2 separate regions of the Homo sapiens genome follow, and region 1 is linked to region 2. Evidence: promoter capture Hi-C in 16 types of primary human blood cells and fetal thymus (Javierre and others, 2016). All regions are on one chromosome and are shown on one strand. Each heading gives the region's core, a stretch centred on a gene start or on the middle of the fragment in contact. The rest is flanking DNA. Distances are from core to core; before and after follow the strand shown. Region 1 overlaps ATG7 (autophagy related 7). Region 2 holds the start of SETD5 (SET domain containing 5).

Evidence for each region. Contacts are between HindIII fragments. The CHiCAGO score rates a contact against its expected background, and 5 or more counts as called.
Region 1: a fragment that was not itself captured here is called in contact with the fragment with the promoter of SETD5 in region 2 in 1 of 17 cell types (monocytes); the score reaches 7.2 in monocytes.

Annotation. Positions count from the first base shown.
Region 1 is chr3:11,272,638-11,276,443 of GRCh38, forward strand. All of the region lies in intron 1 of ATG7 (autophagy related 7), which reads left to right. Among named protein-coding and RNA genes, the nearest start is that of ATG7, 2.1 kb to the left of the region's middle. RefSeq lists an enhancer at 1-545. The HindIII fragment of the contact is 1,403 bases long and covers 692-2,094 here.
Region 2 is chr3:9,396,342-9,400,000 of GRCh38, forward strand. It overlaps SETD5 (SET domain containing 5), which reads left to right and starts at 1,274. Exons shown (of 23, transcript NM_001080517.3): 1 at 1,274-1,636. THUMPD3-AS1 (THUMPD3 antisense RNA 1) reads right to left here and starts at 282. Exons shown (of 4, transcript NR_132781.1): 1 at 219-282. RefSeq lists a silencer at 172-1,481 and an enhancer at 2,092-2,141. The HindIII fragment of the contact is 6,018 bases long and covers 1-3,322 here.

The DNA of each region.
Region 1 (3,806 bases), core at 143-2,642, 1.9 Mb after region 2:
CTGGTTCAGTCCGGGGTCTTCTGACTTGGAAGCTCGTGCTGATTTCCTAAGTCAGCCCCTCCTGTCCTCTTGGTAGGCAGTGCTCAGAATCTTCAGTGTTGGAACACGGGAGATGGGACATTTGGATTCCCAGCCTGGCTGTGTCTGGATTTGCTGTCTCTGGCACGTTCCTTCCCCATCTAAGCTGCTTTTCCATCTGCAAAATGGGAATGATAATCCGCCATTTGTTTAAGTGAGGAGGTTAAATAAGTTTACTTTCTGAGAAAGAAGATTCTCGATTCCTTGGTTACAGGGTTAGAAACTAATGCACAATAAGAATCAATCCGGTAAGGTAAATATAGGTGTTAGAACATTTGTCAGAAATAGAGTCAAACTTCTAATTTTATAAGTACAGTACTAACGTACATGATGTTGGAGAAGTACAAGCCAAACCGTGTGTGTGTGCACGTGCGTGCAGTTTCCTGATTTTTAAACACTGGCGACTGATGCCATTTTTTAAAAATTGGCAAGTAATTCTGGCGTTTAAAAACATTGGCAACTCAGTTTTTACAAAACCCTGTTCAACTGTAACCAGTCATATCTGTGGCTGTCAGTTTGGGACCTCTGGATCCCAGACTCCCTTTTTCATTGACTACTTAGATTTTTTTCTCTGACACCTCTGCCCACTGGCCAGATTTCTTCAGTGACAGAAAGCTTTCTACTTCTGGTTGCTCCTGTTTGGTCCTCCCCCAGTTCTGACTCTTAGGTTGAGCTGAAAGCAGCTACTCGGTAATCTTAGCTCACTGTTCCTCCTTCAGGCTCTTGGAATCACCCCTGCATTTAATTGCCCTATACATCATTGAAAGCTGCTAGTTTGTCTTCCTCTTCTCACCTTTTCTTCTCTAGGCTAAGCATATTTAATGTATTTGCTCATAGTAAACTTAACAGTGACAGCAAATTTTGTCATGTTTTGTTATATCCCCAGCATATAGAGCAATGCCTAGCATATTATATATGCTCAATAAATATTTGTTGGATGAATGAATAAAACAAATATTTGCCTGTTATGTGCCTGGCATTATTGTGGGCACTGGTGATCTATCAGTAAAATAAGAAGAAAAAGAACCCTGTTTCATGGCACCTTCTAATAATAGTGGTGGTGGTGGCGGTGGCGGCATTGTCAGTAAGGGTTGGTAGGTGTTTCCGATTCTGAAACGTACAGGGTCATGGGATGGACAGTAATTGGGGGGAAGCATAAAAGCTAGCTAGTCAGGGATGGCTTCCCTGAGGAAGTGACCTAACACTTGAATAAAGAAAAGTCCAGTCTTGGAATGGCTCATGTTGCTAAACTGCTTTCCCATCCCCCAACGCTGCTCCAGTCTTGTTAAGCTGCTTGCAGGTGTGTGTCACCTATAGCCCTTTGCTTCTGCTGCTTCGAACATCTCCCCTTCCTCTTCCATTTATCTTGGCCAACTCCTTCCTGCCCTCATGTGACATGATTTTGAAATCCTTTAAGAGCTGAGTACTGGACTTTCCATTACTCAACCACAGGTTCCGTTTTTCGTTCCCAGCCAGCATCTCATTATAGAGAATAAACATTTATTGAGCTTCAGCTGTGTGTCTGGCACTGCGCTGCAAGCTGGGAATACAAAAATGAGTAAGATACACATCCCTGTCCTCAAAGAGTTTACTTTTTTTTTAAGCCAAGGAGATAGCAACGGTATGGCATGAAGCTATTGCGGAGGTTTGGTAGAGGAGGACTTAGGGTACGCATAAGTCAGGCTGACTCATCAGAGAAGGTTTCAGTGAGGAGGTGCTGCTTTAGCCAAGACCTGAAGGACGAACGAGATCTGACAGGTGAAGAGTGGTTCGAAGTGAGATGAGCAAAGGGCTAGAGGTGAGAATGCATGGCCTGCTTGTGGTTCACTGGAGTGCCAGTGTGGAGGTGTAGGATGAGAGGTGACTGGAAAGGTAAGCACTAGCCACATCGTGAAGGGCCCTGTGGACAATAGCATGTTACCCGCACATAGACTTTGGGATCCAAGATAGCTGCGTACCAATATTCCCATTGCCACTGAACTAGTTTTGTGACCCTGGGCAAGTCACTTCTTTCTAAGCTTCAGTTTCCTCATCTCTAAGAAGGGGAAATAAAAACTGTACGAGGTGATATGTTACTCACTTGACACTGGTAGATGATAAATACTCAATAAACAGTAGTCATTAATATTGCCAGGCCCAGAAGTTTGGACTCTAAAATGTGGGGGCGGGGGTGGAGAGCAGGACACTGAAGATTTTAAAACAGATGCGACATCCTCTCATCTGTTTTAAATTACCCAGGCAGCAATGTGGTGATTACACTGGACAGAAAAAGACAAGCAGGGGACCAGTTGGGTATAGTTGCAGTGATCCAGGTGACAGGATGAAGATCTGGATGAAGGCAGTGACAGTGGAGATGGAGAGGAGTGGGAGGAGTTGAGAGATTAAGGAGGTGGAATTTGCTGGACTTGGTAACTGATAGGATGAAACAGAAGAAGGGGACAAGAATCAGGATCCTGATGACGGGAGGGCAGAAATGAATTTGCTGTGTGGAATTGAGCAGTAACAAAATTCTTTGACTAGTGTCTCTAATAGATTAACCCTGACCTCTGATTTTATTTGGAATTCAGTTTGCCTCTGTCGTCCACTTCTACCCATGGAAATGACGTTCGCTAATGTCTTCCTCTCCTCTTTTTTTTTTTTTCTTTTTTTTTGAGATGGAGTCTCACTCTGTCGCCCAGGCTGGAGTGCAGTGGCACGATCTCGGCTCACTGCAAGCTCTGCCTCCTGGGTTCACTCCATACTCCTGCCTCAGCCTCCCCAGGAACTGGGACTACAGGTGCCCACCACCATGCCCGGCTAATTTTTTTTTTTTTTTTTTTTTTTTAGTAGAGATGGGGTTTCACTGTGCTAGCCAGGATGGTCTCCATCTCCTGACCTCGTGATCCGCCTGCCTCAGCCTCTCAAAGTGCTGAGATTACAGGCGTGAGCCACCGCTTCCTCTCCCCTTTCTATCTCCTGATCTCCCCACCCTTCTCCAGTGCGATTAAGGCCTGATTGTATAATCAAGGGACAATAAATACTGGAGGTGCTGCTCTGTTAATTGGTAGTCAGTAGGTATTACCATGATCTTGGCAGACTGAGGAATAGCCTATTCACTCCATCTCAGACCGGCTTCAGAATGATCACTTTTGGGATTTCCTCACACCTTCATCCCAGTTACCATCCTTGAACTTGCTCTGGTTTGTCAGCCTCTCTTTGAGTGTGTGGTACAGAAAGGAAATCCTCTTTCCTTGAGGACTCTAACCATGCAGAGCAAGACTGCACTTTTCTTGTGGTAACCTAAAGCCCTGCCAGCTCCATTATAGACACATTGTGCTTTTGACACTATTACACTAGTGTGCCACCAAATAGGCCCTCAGCGTGGCTCAGCCCTCCCCATATCCTCAGGCAGCTCTCTTGTCCATTTCCCTTTATGTCTTCCTCATATTCATTCCTCTCCTCAACCTCCTACCTTGACTTTTGCTCCACTAAGTTGCAGCCATTAATTAAGGCATCGCAGCTTCCTCTTCTATCCTTTACCAACTGATCTTTAGCTGACCCTATCCTTTTGCCTTTTATTCTAATTCTGTGAAAGAAATGGTGTTTTAAGACTAAGTCCTCTATTTGTGCTTGAGATCCCATCGCCTCCTTTGCCTCAAGGACTGGGTTCCATCATTTGTTCATTTTCTTTTCTGTTTCATCAACCCTTCTCATTTAAATATTCTCTGTTTACTCTCATTTTGGAAAAA
Region 2 (3,659 bases), core at 24-2,523:
GCCCAGGGCGGTCCTTACAAGACGGGAGGCAGCAGAGAACTCCCATAAAGGTATTGCGGCACTCCCCTCCCCCTGCCCAGAAGGGTGCGGCCTTCTCTCCACCTCCTCCACCGCAGCTCCCTCAGGATTGCAGCTCGCGCCGGTTTTTGGAGAACAAGCGCCTCCCACCCACAAACCAGCCGGACCGACCCCCGCTCCTCCCCCACCCCCACGAGTGCCTGTAGCAGGTCGGGCTTGTCTCGCCCTTCAGGCGGTGGGAACCCGGGGCGGAGCCGCGGCCGCCGCCATCCAGAAGTCTCGGCCGGCAGCCCGCCCCCGCCTCCAGCGCGCGCTTCCTGCCACGTTGCGCAGGGGCGCGGGGCCAGACACTGCGGCGCTCGGCCTCGGGGAGGACCGTACCAACGCCCGCCTCCCCGCCACCCCCGCGCCCCGCGCAGTGGTTTCGCTCATGTGAGACTCGAGCCAGTAGCAAGGGCCCGGTCCCACAGCTTCGACAGCCAATCAGGTGTCGAAGACAAGCAGGCGGCGGGTAAACCGACTCCCCCGAAGGAAGGGGAGGGTGGGAGGACGCCCGCGCCAGAGCCGATTTCACTGACCCTCCCCTCCCGCCGCAGGAGGCCGGCCGCGCCCGCACACCCAGCATCTCTACACCCCACCTACCTACCCGCCCCACCCAGGGGGCAACGCGAGAGTCGCTAAGCGGCTGCGTACTCCCGACGGCGTAACTGACAGGAGCTTTACTCCAACCAGAATACGCCATTTGTGTTTTCACACACGGCGGGAGGAGAAACGGCCAATCGGCGACAAGAGGCTAGCCGGAAGCGCTCCTCCCTCTGCGAGAGCAATGGCTCCGTCCGGTTTCGAGCATTTTCCGCTCCCTTCTCCCTCCCCCTCCGGTTGCCGCAGGGCGGGCCTCCCTCCCGCCTGCATCCAGCCACCCCTTTCCCTCCCAACGTAACAAACATTATGTTCCCGACTTCCCACGGGAAAGGCAACCCCCGCAAGCCACCAGACGGCCCCCCTAGCCACCCATCCCCCCAGTGTACCGCACCTCCCCTCCCACCAGAGTTCCGCTCCCCTACCTAGCCGAGGCTCTCTGAGGAGCCGGAGCGCCGAAGCACAGCCTCTTCTCTAGGCGGCCCCGGCGGCTTCCGCTGATTGGCGGCGAGTGGGCCAATGGGTGCGGGGCGGTGGGCGGAGAGGCCAATGGCGCGGCGGGAGGGGGCGTGTCCCGGGTGCCCCTGGCGCCGGCGCTGGGAATCCCCGTGCGGTCAGTGGCGTTTCCGCTCGGGCAGCGGGCTGAGTGAGCTGCCGCCGCCGCCGCCGCCGCCGCCGCCGCCGCCGCTGCCGGGGGAGGGGCGGCCGCCGCCCGCCTGCGCTCAGAGACTCACGCAGCCCCAGTCCCGCCAGTCCGCCAACACAGTAGTGCCGGCCCCCCTCTTTCCCTGGCCCTGCCCCCCCTCCCCGCCTTTGGCTCGCTCCGCCTTTCTGCCCCCCACCCCCACCTCACGGGTACGGGCCATTCCCGGCCAGGAAACGCCGTGGCGCCGCGTTGGGCCTAACTCGAGTCCTGCCGCCTCCCGGGAGTGCCGTGCGCCGCAGCCCGGGCCCAGGCCCCGGCAGCGCCTGGGACAAGGTAAGGGTCCGACAGAAAAGAGACCGAACCTCACGATCGGGCCCCAGGGGAGGGAAGGGTCACCTCCTCCGTCTCCCCGCGCTCGCTCTCCTTGGGTCGTGGGCCTGGCCCTCCCCAAGCTCTTAGGAGGATGCTGCCACTTCTCACCCCCCTCGCCGCCTTGCACACACCGTTGCAACACCCCATTTTCCCAGGGAGAGAGATCCCCCTCTAATCTAGGCGACCCAACTCCCCCTTTCATGTTTTTCCTGGGTCAGGACGCTTCCCCTCCCCCAACGCCTCTTCACCCCCTTTCCTGGGAACTGCCTACTCCACGTTTACCTTTCCCTTGAGGAGAGGCCTCTTGCTGCCCTCCGCTCGAAATACACAGGCATACTTTTTTTCTCTCCCCGATCCCCCACTCCCTACCCCCGTTCTCGCGGCCTTGTGACAGACAACTCTGATCGCTCTGGGGGCCGCGATCTCCCCTCCGTAATCTTCCTGGACGCCTTCCCTCTCGTTTTCTGGCTTCCCACCTCAGATGGCTGCTTCCCAAAGGCATTACCTTCGCCACCCCCACCACACGTTCTCTGGCTCCCCGTGGCGTGTGCCACAGCGTGTCTGAGATAGCCTCGTTGAATGTGTAGGGTTCGAGCCTGGAGTTGAGCCAGATTGTGTCGTTTTACTTGCCTTGGGCGTGGAGAACGATCTTGTGAGAATATCTTCAAAGGCAGAAAAATATTCCCTTTATGAATTCTCTTTCCCTCTGCGTGTAAGTCGGGAATGTGAAGAGGAGTGTAGGAAAGAGCCCTGGTTCAAGTAGGTAAATCGCATGAGAGGGAAAGTTAAACTGTTGGGAAAGCCCCTTCTATGCTAATTGATTCTATAGAGTCCTTGCTTGTCTCACTTCTTGGGCGTCAGTGGTCTTTCTCTTGGATATGGATGCTGCAGTCAGCTCTGCTGGTCTGGGTCAGGGGTGCGTGTATGACCTGCATTTTCTGCTTTCTCATGTTACTTGTGCAATGTATTCACCGGTAACTCATTTCTTTCCCAGACCTCTGGGTTCCACTGGGCTTTGTCTATATTTAAGTTCATTTCTCCAGTTTCCTTCCTGCACATAGGTACTGAACGAATCCCCAAGTTCTGTGCTAATTACCTTCATCAGTTGACTAAACAAGTTTTTAGATGACATATTTGTGACCAAGGTCATATTTACATTTCTTTGTTGGACAGATGTTACATAGCTATACTTGTGATTGGGGAGGATCCAGCTGAGTGGAGTGTGCTGAGCTTTTTAGGAGAGTGTGTACTCCCTATTTGAAATTATTTTTTGGTTGTTAATTTTATATTATTAATGTTTTTAGGTCACAGAAAGTTCTAAGTGGTAATTTTAGATGTGTGGGATCTGAGCTAGGACTAAAGCAGAGAATACCCACGTAATCAGAGGTTTCTGGGCTCCATAGAGGACGTAGGGCTTTTTTTTTTCTATTGGATTTCTTCCAGTTTTCTCAGGATCATTAGTTCTCTTCTGTAGCCAAAAATTCTGGCCTGTTATGGGATTAGAGTCTTTAAGGTTTACTCAGACTGTCATTATGTGTAGAAAAATGAATTATGCCCTTTGGTAGGACATGACACAAGGCTCTGTTTCTAGCTGCAAATTTAAATTAGATTGTAGAGTGCTTGGGAAATTGGCTTTCAAAAGACCAAAGCTTAATCTTCACTCCTAAACTGCTGGCTTAATTAAAATGGATATTTAGAATTTGGTAAATGTTGATTTTTCTAATAAAAGGCCTTGGTTTAAAAGGGTGACCTTAGGATTGTTTCTTTCTTAAAAGCATAATTCCAGCCCTTCTGGCATGGAGCACTGGTCCAAAAAAAAAAAAAAAAAGTGTGTGTAAGGAGTGGGGGTGGGGTAAAGAGAAGGTTGTTCCTTTGGGTTGGATCACAGGGGTGAGTATACAAGGCAGCAGCAGCTGCTGGCTCTGGAGCTCTGGTTGCTACGTGAGAAGCTTGAGTAGTGCTGGCTGCTGTCTCCAGGGAAGGA